2 separate regions of the Homo sapiens genome follow, and region 1 is linked to region 2. The links are contacts of gene promoters, found by promoter capture Hi-C in blood cells and fetal thymus (Javierre and others, 2016). All regions are on one chromosome and are shown on one strand. The core of a region is centred on a gene start or on the middle of the fragment in contact, and the rest is flanking DNA. Distances in the headings are between cores, read along the strand shown. Region 1 holds the start of LYPD4 (LY6/PLAUR domain containing 4). Region 2 overlaps RABAC1 (Rab acceptor 1).

Region 1 (5,458 bases), core at 1,100-3,599, 110 kb before region 2:
AGCATTATTGTGGTGATGGTAGGTTGAGACAATGGGAGCTTCCCTCTCTGAGACCAAGTGAATGCAAAACATGCTGGGGATGTACGCTATGGAATATCACGCAGGAGTTGGAAGAAGTTGATTAGATGTACACAGGATGTGAGGCAGGGTACAGTGGCTCACGCCTGTAATCCCAGCACTTCGGGAGGCTGAGGTGGGCGGATCACCTGAGGTCAGGAGTTCAAGACCAAGCTGGTCAACATGGCAAAATCCTGACTCTACTAAAAATACAAAAATTAGTCGAGTGTGGTGGTGGGAGCCTGTAATCCCAGCTACTCAAGAGGCTGTGGCAGCAGAAGAATTGCTTGAACCCAGGAGGTGGAGGGTGCAGTAAGCCAAGATCACACCATTGCACTCCAGCCTGGGCAATAAGAGTGAAACTCCGTCTAAACAAAAAAAAAAAAAAAAAAAAAAAAAAAAAAAAGTACACATCATGACAGAATGACAGAATGTGTACATGGATAGATTGTAAAATCACAGTGCTGATTATTACAAATAGTATATAACATAATATCACTTGCATAAATTAAAAACTCAAACAGAGGTCGGGTGTGGTCGTTCATGCCTGTGATCCCAGCACTTTGGGAGGCCAAGGCAGACAGATCACTTCAGGCCAGGAGTTCTGGACCAGCCTGGTTAATATGGCAAAACCCCATCGCTAAAAAAAAAAAAAAAAAAAAAAAAAAAAAAAAAAAAAAAAAAAAACCCCAACAACAACACTACACACATCCTGGGAGAACACACACACAAACCAAAAGATACATATTAACCACCTTAGAATGAGAATTGCCTATAAGAAGGTTAGGGAATGAAAGTGGGGAATTGGTGGAAAATAACAGTGTAGGAGGGGGTACAAAGATCACTGACCTTGGCCTCAGAGACCCAGGTTGGAATCTTTACCCCTTCATTTACTAGCTGTCCAATTTGTTGAACTCAGAGCCTACTACCTTCTTTATAAAATGAAGTATAATACATCTCATAGGGTCATTGTGAAGATCAATAAAATTATTACCATAAGTATTAGGCAAATGCTAAGCTCTTTATAATCGTTGGTTACCCTGTTCCTCTACCACTATCCCTCCCTCCCACACACACTTCCTCTCACTCTCTCTCCACTACCTAAAGGATCAAGTTCAACCTCTTTAGCTGGCCTTTAAGCCTCCCCCGACCACACCCCACCCCACCCCAGATAAGCGCCACCCAACCTTTCCAATTTTATCTAGGACAGCTCCCCTGCCCAGCAGTCCAGCTAGAGGTCACGTCGGCCACCCTTTTCTGCCTGCAATGCCTCAGACACACATGCTCTGTAACCCAGAAATCTGTGGCCAAGAAAGGTGCCAAGACCCGCAGAAAAGCTGGGACACAGGAAAGAGAAACGAAGGCTGACAACAGATCTCACGGGGGTGAGGGAGATTAGGCCAATCAGAGAAGACAGCACACGCCAGCCTCAGATGCAGAACAACTGGACCTGGACCTAACAAGCTGAGTACAAGTGGAGACGCAACCAGAAAAGATTGAAGTGAAATCCTCAAGCAAAAAAAAAAAAAAAAAAAAAAAAAAAAAGGATGGAGCAGTAGTCAGAGGGGATGCCACCCCTACAAAAGACAAACAAATTGATGGAATGGAACCTTGCAGGGAGAGAGAGGACCAGCAGAGAGAGGGAGGCGTAGGAAAATGAGGAGTGGGGCACAAAGGTGGGGCTCTCAGGGAGAAGAGGAGTCGATTTTAGAGGGGGAGAAGAAAAGGACACAGAGCTGGCTGTACAGAGAAAAGGGGCCAAGGCAGAGAAGATGGCGGGATGGTGTGAGACGGAGTTCACAGAAATACCCAGAGAAGGCGACGATTACACAGAGGAGCCCCCAGAGGGGCGAACTCTTGAGGAAGATGAACGCGGAGGGTGGAGCCAGCCAGAAATTCAGAAAAACTAGAGGCGTCCCCGGTAGCGAAGGAAGCCGGGAAGGGGCCAGGCTATCAGGGCATGAAGCACGGGAGAAAATGGGTCCGAAGAGGGAGAGCGTCCGAGAGAAAAGGAAAATCAGAGATTAGGAAAATCACAACCGACACAAAGACAAGAAGAGACACAAGGAAAGGGGTGCAATCTGAGGAAGGAGGGCCCGGTAAGCAACCCGGTAATCACAGCGCTGGGAGAGAACGCATAAAAGAAGGGTAGCTCAGGAGTTGTGGGGCACCGGAAGAGACATAACAGAAAACGCAGGCCTCCACTCAGCAAAAACAAGCCACGCGCGAAGTCGAGGTACAAGGCAAGGGAAGGCCAGAAACGAGGCAACCCGTGCACAGACCGGGCTTGGTCAACGCCCCAGGGGCGGGGCCAGGCGGGCCGTTCCTGGGGGGCGGGGCCAGCCTCGGTCCAATAAGGGGTACTCGACGCCCCATTGGCCACCTGCCTCGAAAGGGGGAAGACAGTCTGGGCGGGCAGGACGTGCGGAGGGAGAGGCAGCGGTGGCGCGAGGCTCAACTCGAAGCGCTATTGGTGGGACTGATAGTCTTGTGCGCCAAGAAGCTGGCAGAAGGGAAGGGGCGGGACATCAGTTCAGGATCTCAAACCGCATTGGTCGTCTGCCTCGGCTGAGAGAGGCGATGCTTGAAGTTCATTGGTCTTTGTGAGACAGGGTAAGAAAAGCAGCGCGAGCTTGGCGGTTCCTCTGGCCACTTTCTCACAGTGTCTTTGGGCGTCTTCTTGACTGAATCTGACTCCATTGGAGGCTGTGGTAACCGTGAACTAGCTGCACGAACACGGTCCCTCCTGCCTTTCCGTCCTCCTCCCTCTTAGCCGGACTCCCTAACCCAGGCATCCCCTCTCCTCCCCCTCGCGCCCCTCCCGCCCTCGCGCCCCCTCTCCCCTTCCCTGCCTCGCGGGCCCCTTGGCGCGTTCCCGGTTCCCCACTCGCTCCCTGGGGCACGGGAAGGGGGGAGGGGGACATGCATGAAATTAATTGTTGGTAGTGGCCACAGGAGCAGGAAGCGCTGGACACAGTGACTTCACATGTTTACACAAAAACCTGAATAAGGTGTGAGCGCAAGAGAGACATTAGTGCCCCAAGGAGAAGGTTTTTGGCCCAGATCAGGGCCTAGCACATGACAGGGGCTCAGTAACCATTTGTGGAATGAATGAAGGAGTGAAGGAAAATAACTTGAAAGTGGGGCAGGTGGCGGGTGCGGTGGCTCATGCCTGTAATCCCAACACTTTGGGAGGCCGAAGCAGGCAGGTCGCTTGAGGCAGGTCAGGAGTTCAAGACCAGCCTGGCCAACATGGTGAAACCCCATCTCTACTAAAAATACAAAAATTAGACGGGCGTGGTGGCACAGGCCTGTAATCCCAGGTACTCGGGAGGCTGAGGCAGGAGAATTGCTTGAACCCAGGAGGCGGAGGTTGCAGTGAGCCGGGATTGCACTACTGCACTACAGCCTGGGCTACAGAGTGAGACTCCATCTCAAAACAAAAAAAAAGAAAGAAAGAAAGTGGGACAGGGGAGCCAAGCATAGTGGCTCCAGCCTGTAGTCCCAGCTACTGGGGAGGCTGCGGCAGGAGGATTGCTTGAGCTCAGGAGGTGGAGGCTGCAGTGAGCCATGATCACGCCACTGCGCTCCAGCCTGGGCAACAGAGCGAGACCCTGTCAATAAAAAAAAAAAGAAAGTGGAGCAGGGAATCCATGAGAATAAGGTAATTATTGGGGGTGCAAGAGAGGGTTCTGATTTAAAGGGGTACAAGAACAAAATAAGACTAAAGGAATGCAAGGAGGCAGTTGCTTTGCAGGGCATAGATGAGACTAAGAATTGAAATTGAACTAAGAATTGAAAGGGGCATAAAACTACTGGTAGGCATTGGATGAATGCATGAGAGTGGGGTGAGCATTGTTGAAGAGGATGCCAGGAAACACTGTTGGGACGGAACAGGGTGCTTGTGAAAAGGGGATGTAGGACTCGCTGAAGGGGTATGTGAGGACATGAGTAGGTTGGAACCTAGGATGTGTGTGTGGGTGGGAAAGTGTTTGGATTGAAAGAAAAGAATGTTTGAATTGAAAGAATACAGAATGTCGGGCGCAGCAGCTCATGCCTCTGATCCTAGCACTGTGGGAGGCCAAGGCAGGAGGATCGCTTGAGCCCAGGAGTTCGAGACCAGACCAGCCTGGGAAACATAATGAGACCTTGTCTCTATAAAAATAAAAAACAATTAAAAAAAAATTTTTTTTTTGAGACAGAGTCTTGCTCCGTCACCCAGGCTAAAGTGCAGTGGCGCGATCATGGCTCACTGCCAGCTCTGCCTCCCGGGTTCACGCCATTCTCCTGCCTCAGCCTCTGGAGTAGCTGGGACTACAGGCACCCGCCACCACGCCCAGCTAATTTTTTGTATTTTTAGTAGAGACAGGGTTTCACTGTGTTAGCCAGGATGGTCTCGATCTCCTGACCTTGTGATCCACCCGCCTTGGCCTCCCAAAGTGCTGGGATTATAGGCTTGAGCCACCGCACCCGGCCTAAAAATTTTTAAATTAAAAAAAGGGGGGACGGGTGCAGTGGCTCATGGCTGTAATTCCAGCACTTTGGGAGGCCGAGACAGGCAGATCACTTGAGGCCAGGAGTTCGAGACCAGCCTGGCCAACATGGTGAAACACCATCTCTACTAAACATACAAAAATAAAAAAAAATAGCCGGGCATGGTGGCTCTTGCCTGTAATCCCAGCTACTCAGGAGGCTGAGGCAGGAGAATCGCTTGAACCCGGGAGGTGGAGGTTGCAGCAAGCCAAGATCGTGCCACTGCACTCCAGCCTGGGAGACAGAGTGAGACTCCATCTCAAAAAAAAAAAAAAAAAAAAAGAAAGAACACAGAAGAGGAAGAGGAGAGGGGTTTCTGAAGAAGGAAGATACCTGAGAAATGTCATGGGGTAAAGAGGGGAGAAAGCTGGGAAAGAAGCCAGAATCAGGGCGGGGTCTAAAGAGGGGCAGGATGGAGACCTGCAGGTGTGGTCTCCAGGGCAGGAGGGTTGTTAGGGGCAGGCCCACCTGGCTATGCTTACCTTCCACTCCTGCCCCTAGATCCATGGAACCCAGTGACATGCCTGCTGGCTACCACTGCCCCTTAGACTCTGCCCCCTGGGATGAGACCAGAGACCCCCAGAGCACAGAGCTGATCCCCAGGAGAGCCATCAGCCGCTCTCCAACCTGCGCCCGCTGCCGCAACCATGGTGTCACCGCCCATCTCAAGGGCCACAAGCGCCTCTGCCTCTTCCAGGCTTGCGAGTGTCACAAATGTGTCCTCATCCTGTGAGTATGAGGTCTGGGAGGGGAGGAGGATGAGCCTCCTCCAAAGGGTGGCTGACCTTTGACTTGCAACTCCCCACTTTTAGGGAGCGCCGCAGGGTCATGGCTGCCCAGGTGGCCTTGCGTAGGCAGCAGGAGGCGC
Region 2 (5,564 bases), core at 2,142-4,641:
CTTTGGCCTGAGTACCAACCTCCCCCTGACCCGCAGCTCTAGCCTGCTGCCTCAGTGATCTCAGAACTGAGTGCTTGGGTCTTTGGCATCAGTAGCCTCCAAGCAAAGCACCTCGATCATATTCACTGCAAACCCAGCGATGTAGACTGGACCTAGCGTCCACTCACCAACATGGGCACGGACACTCAGTCTCCCCTGGGGAATACTGGCATTGAGGTCAACAAACACCCTCTGCTACTCCAAAATTGGGATTGGAACCCTGGCCTCTGAGTAGGCCCAGGTGACCTGACTTGGCCGGGGGCACCCCGGGTCCCCACCCTGCCTGGTGCCCCAGGATGAGTCCATCTCTAACTGCCTCCCTGGCGGAAGCACTTGTCTGCCCTCTGGTGGCAGATTCTGGAAGTGCACTCCTGTGTGGCGTCAAGACACCCAGGCTCCCCCTGGTCTTCCCATCTTTTGGGAAGCCTGAAGCCTGGGGGTCTTCCTGCTTCCTTCCACTCACCTCCCACGCAAGTCAGCCACCAAGACCTGTCCTTCAACCTCCTGAATCTCTCTTCCCTGTCTCGCCTCTCCACCCCACTTCCCTGCCCCATCTTCCCCAGCTAGGATCATCGTCCCTCGTCTCACTCCCTCCAGCCCATCCGCCACACAACCTCAGAGGGATAACCCTCTCTGCCCCGCCCCGCCCCTCCCCTGTCCCCGTTCCCCTCCCCTCCCCTTCCCCTCCCCTCCCCTTCCCCTCTCCTCCCCTCTTTTCCTTTTATTTTTCCCTTCCCTTTTCCCCTTCCTCTCCTTTCCTTTCCTCTTTCTTTTTTTTTTTTTTAGAGGGAGCCTCCCTCTGTTGCCCAGATTGCAGTGCAGTGGCGCGACCTTGGATCACTGCAACCTCCGCCCCCCAGGTTCAAGCGATTCTCCTGCCTCAGCCTCCCGAGTAGCTGGGATTACAGGTATGCACCACCATGCTGGGCTAATTTTTGTATTTTTAGTAGAGACAGGGTTTCGCCATGTTGACTAGGCTGATCTCGAACTCCTGACCTCAGGTGATCCACTCACCTCAGCCTCCCAAAGTGCTAGGATTACAGGCATGAGCCATCATGCCCGGGCTAACTTGCAATTTTCTATTTAATCCGCACACCCCCCGCCCCCGCCTTCTTTTTGAGACAGGGTCTCACTCTGTCACCCAGGCTGGAGTGCAGCGGTGATGCAATCTCGGCCCACTGCAGCCTTGACCTACTGGGCTCAAGCAATCCTCCCACCTCTGCCTCCCAAGTAGCTGGGACCACAGGCATGCGCCACCACACCTGGCTAATTTTTGTATTTTTTGTAGAGACAGGGTGTTGCCATGTTGCCCAGGCTGGTCTCGAAGTTCTGAGCTCATGCAGTCCACCCACCTTGGCTTCCCAAAGTGCTGGGATTATAGGCATGAGCCACCACACCCAGCAACTCTTGTTTGTTTGTTTTTAAAGAGATGGGGTATCTCTGTGTTGCCCAGGCTGAGTGCAGTGGCAGTCATGGCTCACTGTAGCATTGAACTCCTGGACTCAAGTTATCCTCCCACCTCAGCCTCCCAAGTAGCTGGGACTACAGGCCCACACTACCATGCCCAAATAACTGTTTAACTTTTTTGCAGAGATGGGGGTCTTGTTGTGTTATCCAGGCTGGTCTCAAACTCTTGGGCTCATGCAATCCTCCCACCTTGGTTTCCCAAGGTGTTAGGATTATACAGGCATGAGCCATGGTGCCCAGCCTTAATCATGTTTTTTTTCTTTTTTTTTTTTTTTGAGATCGAGTCTCGCTCTGTCACCCAGGCTGGAGTGCAGTGGCGCGATATTGGCTCACTGCAAGCTCCGCCTCCCAGGTTCACGCCATCCTCCCGCTGAGTAGCTGGGACTACAGGCGCCTGCCACCACGCCTGGCTAATTTTTTTGTATTTTTAGTAGAGACGGGGTTTCACCATGTTAGCCAGGGTGGTCTCGATCTCCTGACCTCGTGATCCGCCCACCTCAGCCTCCCAAAGCGCTGGGATTACAGGCGTGAGCCACTGCGCCCGGCCTCTTAATCGTGTTTTTAAAAGTAAAAAACAAAAGGTGAAATGAATAATAATTTAATCCACTATATCAATAAATTATCCTTCCAACACACATAATCAACATAAAAATTATTATTATTTTTGAGACAGAGTCTTTCTCTGTTACCCAGGCTGGAGTGCAGTGGCACAATCTTGGCTCACTGCAACCTCTGTGTCCCAGGTTCAAACAATTCTCCTGCCTTAACCTCCCAAGTAGCTGGGATTATAGGCATGTGCCACCATGCCAATTTTTTTTTTTTTTTTTTTGAGATGGAGTCCTGCTCTGTTGCCTAGGCTGGGGTGCAGTGGTGCGATCTTGGCTCACTGCAACCTCCGCCCCCTGGGTTCAAGCAATTCTCTGCCTCAGCCTCCCAAGTAGCTGGGATTACAGTGCACCGCCACCATGCCCGGCCAATTTTTTTGTATTTTTAGTAGAGACGGGGTCTCACCATCTTGGCCAGGCTGGTCTTGAACTCCTGACCTCGTGATCCACCTGCCTCGGCCTCCCAAAGTGCTGGGATTACAGGCGTAAGCCACCGCGCCAGGCCAATTTTTGTACTTTTAGTAGACACAGGGTTTCACCATATTGGCCAGGCTGGTCTAAAACTCCTGGCCTCAAGTGATCTGCCTGCCTCAGCCTCCCAATAGTGCTGGGATTACAGGTGTGAGCCACCATGCCCAGCCTATAAAAATTATTGAGATATTTTACTCCATTTTCATACTAAATCTTCGAAGTCTGGTGTGCATTTCACACTCATAGCATGTCTCAGTTTGGACCAGCCATGTTTGAGGCAGCCGCATATGGCTGGCCACCATATCTGACAGGAGAATTCCAGAACAGTGGGCATCAGTGGGCTCTGGGTGAGCACCTGCTGCATCAAGGATGAGTGGGTGAGTTCTGCTGAGGAGACACGAGGTTGGAGAGGCTGCATCCCTGAGGCCTTGGCACTCGCTGTCCCTCTCCTTGGGAAACTCCACCCACTTCTTGTGTCTCCTCAGAGAGCCCTCCCAGACCACCCCTATCTAAAGTAATTGGCGGGGCACGGTGGCTCACACATGTAATCCTAGCACTTTGGGAGGCCAAGACAGGTGGATCACCTGAGGTCAGGAGTTCGAGACCAGCCTGGGCAACACAGTGAAACCCTGTCTCTACCAAAAATACAAAAAAATCAGCCGGGCGTGGTGGCAGGCGCCTGTAATCCCAGCTACTCGGGAGGCTGAGGCAGGAGAATCACTTGAAACCGGGAGGTGGAGGTTGCAGTGAGTCGAGATCGCGCCATTGCACTCCAGCATGGGCAACAAGAGCGAAACTCCATCTCAAAAAAATTAAAAAATAAAACTAAAAATACAAAAATTAGTCAGGCGTGTTGGTGGGCACCTATAATCCCAGCTACCTGGGAGGCTGAGGCAGGAGAATAGCTTGAATCTTGGAAGTGGAGGTTACAGTGAGCCGAAATCACACCATTGCTCTCCAGCGTGGGCGACAGAGAGAGACTCCATCTCAAAAAAATAAACAAATAAATAAAAATAAAAAAATCAAGTCACTTCTTAGGCCCTCTCGGCCACCTCCCTTGTCTTCATCTGCCTGGCACTTTCCCTCCCAAGTGTGTTTCTCTTTTGTTACTGCTACCACGTGGCAGTCTCCACCTCATGATGAAAGGCAAACTGGACCCGGCACGGTGGCTCATGCCTGTAATCCCAGAACTTTGAGAGGCTGAGGCAGGAGGATTGCTTCAGCCCAGGAGTTTGAAACCAGGCCAGGCAACATAGTGAGACCCTGTCTAATGAAAAGTTAAAAAAAATTAGCTGGGTGTGGTGGCGTGCACCTGTGGTCCCAGCTGCTCAGGAGGCTGAGGTGGGAGGCTCACTTGAGCCCAAGAGGTAGATGCTGCAGTGAGCAGTGGTCACACCACTGCACTCCAGCCTGGGCCATAAAGTGAGACCCTGTCTCAAAAAAACAAAAGGCAAGAAGCAAACTGGGCTGGACACAGTGGCTCACACCAGTAGTCCCAGCACTATGGGAGGCTGCAGGGGGAGAATCGCTTGAGCCCAGGAATTTGAGACCAGCCTGGGAAACAAAGCAAAATCCATCTCACAAAAGCAAACTGTGTCTTTCATCTCAAGCAGAGTAAAACCCAAAGCCCTCACCGTGGCCCACAAGGCTCCCTGGCCTCCCACACTGTCCCCCTCGCTTATCTGCCCCAGCCACGCCCACCTCCTGGCTGCCCTCGAGCCTCCTGGCTGCTGCCATCTCCCAGGCTATGCCCCTGTGGCTTCCTCTGCCCCAATTATTCTTCCTCCAAAGGATCTGGGCTGCTCCCTCTCTCAATTTAGGTCTTTGGTGAATGTCACGTCAGGGAGGCCTTTTCTGGTCACCCTCTTTAACCCACAACTCATTCCCGAACTTTCTCTGTGCAGAAAAGAGTTAACCTGGCAGGCTCCACAACAGACTGCTGTCCTTAGACAGGCCTGGGTGCACAGTTGGTCCTTGGCTGGGAACTTGGGTGTTGGGGGGGGGGTCTTATCACTTCCTGATAGAGTGGCTCGCTGCATCTATCTAGGCTGTTCGTGCAGGCCTAGAGTGGCTTGCTGCATCTATCTAGGCTGTTCGTGCAGGCACAGGCCTTCTTTCTGGGAGCCTGGCATTTTGGTATATGTTGGAGAGAAGGTGCTCTTGTGGCCGCCCCCATGAAACCAAGGGCGCTGAGGCTAGGATCAGAGTGTCCCTGGCTGACATTTCACACGTCACCATGATCCACTGCTGGAGGAATTAGGTGTGGCCTCTGGAAGTGCATGCCTGGTTTCCCGAGTTCACTCCATGCACCTTTCCTTTTGGCTGACTTGGCTCCATACCCTTTGATGAGAGTAAATCAGAGCTGTGAGTGCAATTGCATACTGAGTCCCCAGTCCCAGAGAACCATCAAACCTGGGGTGCTCTCTGATTCCTGAGTCCTAAAGAACCATCAAACCTGGGGGTGGTCTCGGGGACCCCCGGCACACTGTCCTTCTCAACTCTTTTCTCCTCCTGAACACTCACCACCATTGGGCATCCCATAATATTTTACCTGTTTACCTTGTCATCGTCTTGCCCACACCCCAGGTTCCACCCCAACCCTGCTCTGTGCAGTATTCCCAGCTCCACCCATAGAGACCCACAGAAGATGCTGGGGGAATATTTCCTGAATGACACCCATAACAGCTTTATTTTCAAAGGCGGGATCCCTCCCCGGGCTTGTGATGGGACGGCGCTGTGGGCCCGAGCAGCAGAGCCGTGCAGGACAGGCATGGGCAGGGGTGGGGCAGCTGGCCCGGGAGGCCGGCAGGTCCCAGAAGACACCTCACACGGGTTCCATCTGCAGCTCCTCCCCGTCCACAGCCTCAATCTGGTGGAAGGCAGCGTGGGAGCCGATGACCACCAGGGTGGCTCCTGCAGGAAAGCCGGCAGCTCAGGGCCACACTCCTGCACCTGGCTCCCACCATCCACCCCAGCTGCTCA

What was found. Contacts are between HindIII fragments. The CHiCAGO score rates a contact against its expected background, and 5 or more counts as called.
Region 1: the fragment with the promoter of LYPD4 here is called in contact with a fragment that was not itself captured in region 2 in 8 of 17 cell types (naive CD8 T cells, naive CD4 T cells, non-activated CD4 T cells and 5 more); the score reaches 8.2 in naive CD8 T cells.

The regions. Positions count from the first base shown.
Region 1 is chr19:41,842,334-41,847,791 of GRCh38, forward strand. LYPD4 (LY6/PLAUR domain containing 4) reads right to left here and starts at 2,350. Exons shown (of 5, transcript NM_173506.7): 1 at 1,245-2,350. DMRTC2 (DMRT like family C2) reads left to right here and starts at 2,709. Exons shown (of 9, transcript NM_001040283.3): 1 at 2,709-2,768; 2 at 5,092-5,319; 3 at 5,403-5,458. The coding sequence starts at 5,096. The HindIII fragment of the contact is 15,469 bases long and covers 1-5,458 here.
Region 2 is chr19:41,951,440-41,957,003 of GRCh38, forward strand. RABAC1 (Rab acceptor 1) reads right to left here. Exons shown (of 5, transcript NM_006423.3): 5 at 5,244-5,495. The coding sequence ends at 5,407. Among named protein-coding and RNA genes, the nearest start is that of RABAC1, 5.1 kb to the right of the region's middle. The HindIII fragment of the contact is 6,931 bases long and covers 1-5,564 here.